Regions from separate parts of the Homo sapiens genome. Here region 2 is linked to region 1. Evidence: promoter capture Hi-C in human tissues and cell types (Jung and others, 2019). All regions are on one chromosome and are shown on one strand. The core of a region is centred on a gene start or on the middle of the fragment in contact, and the rest is flanking DNA. Distances in the headings are between cores, read along the strand shown.

Evidence for each region. The method cuts DNA at HindIII sites, captures the fragments that hold promoters and counts their contacts. A contact is called where the count stands out against the background at its distance.
Region 2: a fragment that was not itself captured here is called in contact with the fragment with the promoter of ADAMTSL3 in region 1 in 2 of the 25 tissues and cell types used here (hippocampus and mesendoderm cells).

Annotation. Positions count from the first base shown.
Region 1 is chr15:83,652,342-83,656,678 of GRCh38, forward strand. ADAMTSL3 (ADAMTS like 3) reads left to right here and starts at 1,782. Exons shown (of 30, transcript NM_207517.3): 1 at 1,782-1,935; 2 at 3,388-3,489. The coding sequence starts at 3,421. RefSeq lists an enhancer at 251-420. The HindIII fragment of the contact is 6,298 bases long and covers 1-2,659 here.
Region 2 is chr15:83,609,676-83,614,012 of GRCh38, forward strand. The region is part of intron 8 of SH3GL3 (SH3 domain containing GRB2 like 3, endophilin A3); the gene reads left to right. Among named protein-coding and RNA genes, the nearest start is that of ADAMTSL3, 42 kb to the right of the region's middle. RefSeq lists enhancers at 3,406-3,575, 3,703-3,872. The HindIII fragment of the contact is 7,535 bases long and covers 1-4,337 here.

The sequences.
Region 1 (4,337 bases), core at 532-3,031:
CTGTGAGCTCAGTGTTCAGGAATCAACAATAGATGTTAAGTAAGGCGTCTTTAAACAGAAACATGCATAAAATAAGGCAATGTGTTGATTGATTGACAAAAATATTGTGAGCTTGCAGGAACCCAACTCTATATTTCCCCTAGGAACAATGGCTCCATATTCACAAATTCGTTGTTCTGTGACTTTATAGACCACAACTACAGTAAATAAAAAGGATCGATTGTCCATAGATGAGTTAGTTCTAGTTTAGCCCAGCCCTCCCTACCCTTCACTGGCTACTCTTACCTCTCCTGTCTCCACACTGACCTGTCCTCTGCTCACTTGCCACAAGTCCAATCATTTTACATAGAGTGGAGAGACAGCCTTGAAGATCCTCTTCTTGGTCAGAGGAAGTCACCAGAGTAAGTAAGGGAAGAATGAGTGAGGAAAGCAGGCAGGGCCAATTGCTCTTGGCAAAGCTCTAGCAGTAACCGGAACGCAGCAACCACAGAGAAGGCAGGAGAACAACTTTAGGGGTGAACAGTCCAGGCTCTAGAGAGAGGCAGATAGGGGTTCCAGTCCTGGCTTCTCCACTCATGGTGGGCAAGTTATCCTCCCAGCCTCAGATTTATCCTAGGTGAAATGGGATAATGCTCGAACTACTGCTGCTGTGAAGATCAGATAGACACAAAGAGCTTGGTACTCGACAGACACCCAAGGAAATGGCGACTGTGGTAGGACTTAGGTGGGGGCATAATGCAGCCTTTAAGATCAATCTCCTGGCCCTTGGCTTATCCTGCTGGGACTAGGACAAGGACAGGGACAAACATTTCCTTTTACTTCTCCTCACCTCCAGAAGTACACAGGCAACTCACCCCAGTCTCTTGTCCGCGACACTCTTCCCCCCAACCCCAAATCCCAGGCCTGGACACGGCATGATTCTGGCACCTGTGGAGCTCTCAGTTCCCCAAGCCCGGCTCAGACAAGGAGGCGCCAGGTACCCAGTTAAGAGGCGCTCCTGCAAGATCCTCGTGGTCCCTGGCTGCCAAAGGTCCCAGGCCTCTGGGCAGTGAGCGCTCCACAGTCCCTTGTGTGGCGTCTATGCTGCGCGGAGGAGGCGCAGGCCAGGAGAGGGCCATTGGTCTCCACTATGGTCCTGCCTGGCCAGGAGTGCCTATGGCTCTTAGGCACGAGCCAGCGGTTCCGGGCAAACCTCTGTGTGGCTGCTGGGCCTGACTTTGCAGAGCTGGCGCCCGGGTCTGGGCGGGGTGGGTGGAGGCTATGGGAGGTGGGGCCGGGGGTGGGCTCGGGGGGAGCGACGGCATCCCTGCTCCGGCTCCGGCTGAGGCGGGGCGGCCAGGCTGGCTTGCGGCGCAGCGGCCGCCTTTCCCCAGTGCGCCTGCCGGCGGCGGCGGTGGCGGCGTCGGCAATCCCGGCTCTTGGCACAACGCCTGGCGGCCGGCCCAGGGCGAGGAGTGGCTTCCAGGAAGCGGGCGGAGGAGCGTTCCAGCCGAGTCCCGCCGTCGCCGCGGCCCCGCGCGCTCCGAGCGGCCCGGGCCTGGCCCCACACGGCGTCTCTTCGCGCCCCCGGCGCCTCCAGCTCAAGCCGAGGGCGCGGTGCCGGCGCGCAGGCTGACGGGCGCCTGGGCGCGCCGTGCACTTGCCGGGCGGTGCAGGTGGCGGCGCGCGCCCTCCGCCTCTGGGCCGGGGCCAGCGCAGCGCTCTGCGCGCCCGGAGGGGGCGGGAGAGGCGGGGCAGCCCCCGTCCCAGCCCCATTTAACTTCGCGGCGGCGGCGGCGACTGCGGCGCCGCGGGCTGGAGGCCGGCGTCGGGGAAGGTCCTGGTGCCGGATTCCGCACGAGGTGTTGACGGGCGGCTTCTGCCAACTTCTCCCCAGCGCGCGCCGAGCCCGCGCGGCCCCGGGGCTGCACGTCCCAGATACTTCTGCGGCGCAAGGTGGGTGCACCGAGCTCGGCGCAGGGCGGCCCCTCAGGGGTCGGGGGAAGGCGCTCCCCAGAGGGAGTAAGACTTGGAGCAGTGGCCTCTCTAAGCAAGTTGGGGGTCTCCAAGCAGAGTCGGGGCGTGCCACGCGGGCCCCAGGGGGCCTCAGGACTGGGGTGCTCCTCACTGCTGGGCACCTCGGGTCGGGCGCGCTTCGTGCCGTCCCGGAAGGTTCAGGGAGAGTCTTTCGGCGGCAGTTCGCGGGCTGAGGGGCGTTCTTGATTATGGGGGAACTCCACAGGGTTGGAGTTTTTCAGGATTGGGAGTTACTAAGCAGAAACCTCGCGGGTCCGAAGGTCCGGCCGGTTGACCACTGGGTAGCGAGCGCCCAGAACGCCGGGGGTTGAGGCGACGCGCGATCGTGGAAAGTGGGCGTGGGGGTGACCGGGACGCGGCGGAGGCACTGGAGGAGCGACTTCGAGGCAGCGGGTAGTCGGAGGAGTGTGCACTCGGAAGGCTGGTGCGAGCAGGCGAGGGTGGCGCAGAGTCCCAGGGCCCCGCACTGGCCGCCTCCCTTCAGCCAGGAGTCGCCGCCTCAGGTCGGAAACAGCAGCACATTTGCGGATCACATTAGACCAGGCCCTTAATGCCTTCTCCAGATGGAGAGAAGCCACCGACCCGCCCCCGGACACCAGCTCCGCCAAGGCGCCCGCGAGGCGAAGCGGGAGTCGAGTGTGACCTCGGCTTTTCCAGTCTCGACTCATACTGATTTCCCTGTAAATTGACAGGAAAAGTAAGGGAAAAAGTCCCCGCTTCCCTCCTGGTTTCAGCTGACCTCTGCTGGCTGGCCCTCACCTACTTTTAGGAGATTGTGTTAGGCTGGCTCAGGGGCTGTGTCCTCCAAACCTCCCTGAACTTAGCTCTCAGGCGTCTCTCTGGGTGTGGGTCCCGGACCTCGAGGGCGCACGGTGTCATCTAGCGAGGAAAGCCTTGAACTATCAGAAGATCTGCGTTTCAGCCCTAAAATGTCACTATCTTGCTGTGTGACCTTAGGCAGGTCCTTTCCCTCTCTGGGCGGCTTTGTTGTCTTAGACTCATTTTTGCCGCGAGCAGCAGAAGCTAGCCTAAACCTTGGCTCTGTGCTGGCTTCCTGAGTCAAATGCCAATAGCGACACCCTGCTGCTGACAGATAGGCTTGGGCAGGGATATCTCAGCTTCTGAAGAGCTGGAGGTATGAGATGCCCACTGGAGACAGGTCCAGCCCTCGCCTGACTTTGTTGTGGACCTTCTAAAGGGAGCCCAGTTAGCCTGCACCCTGCAGTAGGCAGCGGCAACCTGGGCCAACACAAACCTTTCCAAAATAGTATATGGGCTTCAGGGTCCCTCCATCTAATGGGTCGCTTAAGTCACGGTTTACTGCCATGGGGGCCAGAGCTGGTTGGTAATGAACTCTTTCCTCGTTTGTAGGCTACAACTGAGACCCGGAGGAGACTAGACCCCATGGCTTCCTGGACGAGCCCCTGGTGGGTGCTGATAGGGATGGTCTTCATGCACTCTCCCCTCCCGCAGGTAAGGTCATATAGGGAGGGGAAGGGAAATGGTGGACATCCCTCTGTTTACTCAGAGGCATTATTGTATACCACCTAAGATGTGGCATGATTAGTGTTAATCCTACACCAGAGAACCAGACTTTCTTTCCTATCTCTAGCCAATGGTATTTCTGGTTGGCTTAGCTGTAAGGATTATCCAGATCCCTTGGGTCCTCTCTGAATCCTGAGTAGGGCTTTAATAGCACTGTGGATACCATACACCGGTGATGACCTGGGGCTGTGATGGACCCTGTCATTTCAGACTAGAATGGCTGTCTGCATGTGCCCAGCAGAGGCTGGGTTGCTGGAGACCAGGAAACAATGGGCAGAGCCAGGTTCTGGCCCTAGCTAAGCTGCTAAATAAATATTCTGAGTTTACATCTATCATCACATATCCCACTGTTTTATCCCACAGTCCTCTCTTTAGACTTCTGCTGTCTTTTCCAACCAACTTGAGAGGACCCGGCTCATGAATTGCATCTTTATTTGCCTAAAGGACAGACTCAAACAAAGGAATGAGGCTAGCATTGCCTAAGAGACAATAGAGAGTAACGGAGACAGTGGCAAAGTGCAGAACGCGTGCTCCATCTATTAAGAGCAGTCTCTACTCAATTCCATCTGATCGTTGCTAAGTGGAGACATAAGCCCAGGATTGCCAGATCTTATTTTTCAAGATAGCTGGATCATCTAGACTTCTTACAAAATTTCCCAGTTTTTAAAGTATTGAAAGGCAGATAAATGTGTTTGCAGCCTGGATTCAGCCAAGCAGTTTGCAGCCCCAGATCTAAAGGCAGGGCACATCTTAGTATTGTGTCCCAAGGGCTGCTG
Region 2 (4,337 bases), core at 670-3,169, 43 kb before region 1:
AGTGGGCTCCTTCGGTGGTCTGAAAAGAACCCAAGTTCCACAAAAGAGCTGTGAGTTTTAGTGCAACAGAGAGAAGGATGCCCCTTGCGCCACTGACCACTCTTTCCACCTTCACCTCCCTTAAAGTCAGGGTTAGAGATGGAGCCCTGGAGAACAGGCTTCCAGATCCTGGCATGTGGGAGAGAGAGAGAGAGAAAATGAGAAGGCCAGGCTGCAGACACGCCAGTCCCTTCTGATGCCATCTCTACTCTGGTGTCTAATCCACCACCTGGAGTGGGCACTGTTTTTAACTGAAGCCTGAGCTGCTCACTTTGAAGCTGGAACTCAGGCTGAAGAAGGCAGGACAGAGACTAAGTGCCTGGAAGTTATCCCTCAAGTGCGACAGGCAAGGCTAGGTGGGACCTGGACAGACCTTCCTGGGGATCTGCGTAGGATTTAGGTAGAGAATGCTCTTAGAGAGCCTTCAAAGGCCTGGGAGCATCCTGAGGTATGCTGAGCTGAGGACCCAAAGGCTCATTCCAAGCCCAGCTGATGGGCCACCCCATTGAATGGGATTGGCTCAGAAATGGTGTGGGAGAAGGCTGGGCGTGGTAGCTCATGCCTGTAATTCCATCACTTTGAGAGGCCAAAGCAGGAGGATCACTTAAGCCCTGAAGTTTGAGACCAGCCTGGGCAACATAGTGAGACCCCACCTCTATAGAAAATACCAAAATTATCCGGGCATGATGGTGCCTGTAGTCCCAGGTACTCAGGAGGCTAAGGTGGAAGGATTGCTTGAGCCCAGGAGGTCAAGGCTGCAGGCCAATAGCAGGGCACTGTACTGCAGCTCGAGGAACAGAGCAAGACAGTCTCAAAAAAGAAAAAAGGAAAAGGAAAAGAGAAAAGAAAGAAAAAGAAAAAGAGTGGGGATAAGACCACAAACTAACAATTTTCAGGGGGTATATTGCATAGGGATCAAGAACGTGGACTCTCTACCTGGCCCGAGGTCAAGTCTCAGTGTTGTGGCTTAATTGTGTTAAATTTGTGTCCTCAATTTCTCCATCCCTCACATTGGGGGAAATAGTGGTACCTACTCATAGGATTTCTCTGGGAATTAAATCCATAAATCCACTAATATCTCTGAGACACTTAAAATATTGTCCTGGCACATGGTAAACACTAACACCTGAGAGTTATTATTTCGTCCCTGTAGCTGAGTAGGGCTGAGGAATTGTAGGATTGGACCGCCTCTACCTTAATAAAATGTGCTCAGCATTTCTGCATATGCAAGTAACCCTTTGCAGCAGCAGGGACTTCAGCCAAAAAATATATATATATATATATAATATGTATGTGTGTGTGTATAAATGTATGTGTGTGTGTCTATATATATATATAGAGACAAAATAAGTGGAGTTGGGGGAGGGGCACCGCAAATAATGTTCCTGCTGTTAAAATAAGAGGGACTGAACCATATTAATGCCAAGGGGGAAGTTCAGTTTATTTCAGGGGGGACGTGGTTTTCCTACCTCCTACTGTGTTACTGATACAGTACTTACTGACCAGCCGTCTTAAACTCTTGTGGTAGGGTCTCTCTCTCTCTCTCTCTCTTTCTCTTTTTCCTAATGGTGTGGAACAGAGCTTGAATAATAAATATTTAACAGGGACACTCCCTTTTCTCTGTTAAAATAATCTTTGTTTCAATACTTTAACAAGGAAGACTGTGTTTTCCCACCTCTGCTCTCACGTTTCGTTGAAGCCAGGTCTCAGGAGTAAGAGAAAATCAACACAAGGCCACTTGGGGAGGGCAGTGCTGGCTGAAGCCGTCTCACTGGACAGCCCAGGGTCAGGGGTTTCAGCCGCCTGTTCAAGGACACCGAGATCCACAGCAGCCACCTGGGAGCTCCTACACAACTATGCCCAGCGATTCCAGGTGCCAGCTACTGAATGTGAGAGAGCAAGGAGGTGGAGGTGGATGAGGAACTGCCAGCTGCAGGACCACAGGGGCAAGGGGAAGGGGTTGTCAACAGGGATGGGACGCTGGGTAGGATCAGTCTTTTCTTACGAGACGTTTTCAGCTGAGGTGCTGGCTTCTGATGGTGGGAAACCAAGCATTCAGGTCCCTTGGAGAGGCTTATATCTAACAGTTGGAAAGCCTCCATTGAGGAAATCCAGCCCATTCTGCCTGGACTTTGGGGCTCCATCCATGGTGACTTTTGTGTCAAGGGAAAATTCACACACTGTCCCTCAGGCGGGCAGCAACTTAATTTCTCTTTAGCTGAACTGAACTTGCTTGCAAGCCTCTATGTAGACCAATGGCGGAAACAACTTAATCTTTTTTCCATTTCTGTTGTTGACCAAAAAAAAAAAAAAGCTTTAAAATCTTTTTTCCATTTCTTCTAATGGTGGAAAAAAGCATAATCTTGCCATTTCAAGGTAGCTCAGTCTCTTCCAATAGAAAGCATAGACTATCCGTTTATGACTTAGGCGATTCCAGATTTAAACACAGTCAATTCAGAGTAGAAATTCCCTATCAGGGCTGTTGGTTTTTCTTGAAGGTTCTCTCCTCCCCCTGGTCCAGTCCTAAGATGTTGCCTAGATGTGAGGGGGGTTTACAGAACATCATGGTGGCAGGTAGGGAGGCTCACTTCCACAGCTGAGGTGACTCGTCACAGGAGGCCTGGGGCCTGGGCCAGGATCTGTGCTGACATCTGTGGCTTAGGCCTCCCTCTCTGGGTTGCTGAATCTCTGTATTTGGAGCCGTGTGTCACTGCCCCCAGGCAGCCTCTGGCCTCAGTGGCCCCTCAGCACTTCCTGCTGGGGACTTGAGGGAATTTGTTCACAGTTCACAGGGAGCGACCAGCCTTCAGGCCCCATCTGTACTTAGTGACACCACATGGTTTCCACTGGGCTCCAGCCCCCGTGTTAGTCCAGAGAACTTTGACAGCTGCCTTCTCCCGGGATTTCTGTGGAAAGTGGAGTCTAAGACCCCCTTCCCCAGGGTGGCATCCAAGGAGCATTTCAATTTTCTTGCTCACCCTCTTCTCACTGCAGGCCCCTTCCCTGCTTCCCTGCCTCCAGAAAGAGCTTGTATCTCTTCTCTGGATGGCAGGAAACAGCTCCTCCCTCTCCATGGCTTGTAATCAAAATGCTAGGCTCTGAGTTCTTCAAGCTCTAGTTCTTGGAACCCAGAAGTTTCTCTCTCTCTCTCGCTCTTAAATCTTATAAAAGCCTACCTGGCTCTAGCATGAAAGCCTAAAAGCCTTGGCTTTCACAATGTTTCACAACTGAAATGGTATTATTTGGGAATTTAAAAGCTAAACATTGACTGCTTTGTTCATGTCTGGGTTCCACCCTCCTCCTCAAGTAAGGGAGGCAAGCCCCAGCTCCTTGGGTTGAGGGCCCCAGGCAACAGAAATGACCCAGAATGAAAAATGCATTGATACTTCAGAATATCGTCCGGCTGCATGTATAATTCAGGGCAGCCAGTCTGAGCTCTGGTTGGGGTGGATTTACCAACTGCCTACTTAGCAAGTGCCAATTGCTCTTAGTGTTGTAGCCAGCCCAGTGGTGGCTGGAGGGCCAGGTGCACTTGTACTGCCTGAGTCAGGGAGTTCTTGAACAGGGTCTTTCTACTCAGTGGTCTCTGGAGAGATGCCCTGCCTTGGGTTTAGGTGCTGATGGAGTGTGATATGAGTGCTGGTCTCTTTCCAGCTCTCAGAATATCAAAGTGGGCAATGTGGCAGTGGTTCCTTGCCAAGAATGAATGACATGAGAAGTGAGTAATGCAGCTTTTCCATGATTTGTTCTGTGTGTGTGTGCAGCAAGAACCCAGGTTTACACATGGAGGTGGTGGCCTGGTTTACACATGGAGGTGGTGCATACACTTGGACAAATGTATGCTTGCCACTAAGCATTTTGGTCATTGCAGGTGGCTTATAGAGTAAATGGGAGGGAAATATATAAATCTATCTATCTATCTATCTATCTATCTATCTATCTATCTATCTATCTATCTATCATTAGCCCTGTAATCAGTGTGTCAGCCTATGAAATGTCTTGGCAACCCTTAGTGGTGTCATAGATCATGTACGAGGTGACATGGAGCAAGGTAGCTGATGGCCTAGGGTCTGGAGCCCTCCTGTTTCTGGCTCAGCCAGTAGCCCTGGGGCCAGGCCATTATGACCTCTCAGAGGCATTGATGGCTTCTCTTGGAAAAGGAGAGGACTCATGGAGGACTGCCAAATTCCATTCTAGCATTAACATTCTGTGTTCAAGGAAATGCTTCCCGAGACTACCATGTGGTTTGGCACCTGACCCCTTCTCTGTTAAAAACTAGTCTAGTAGTGGGAGAAATG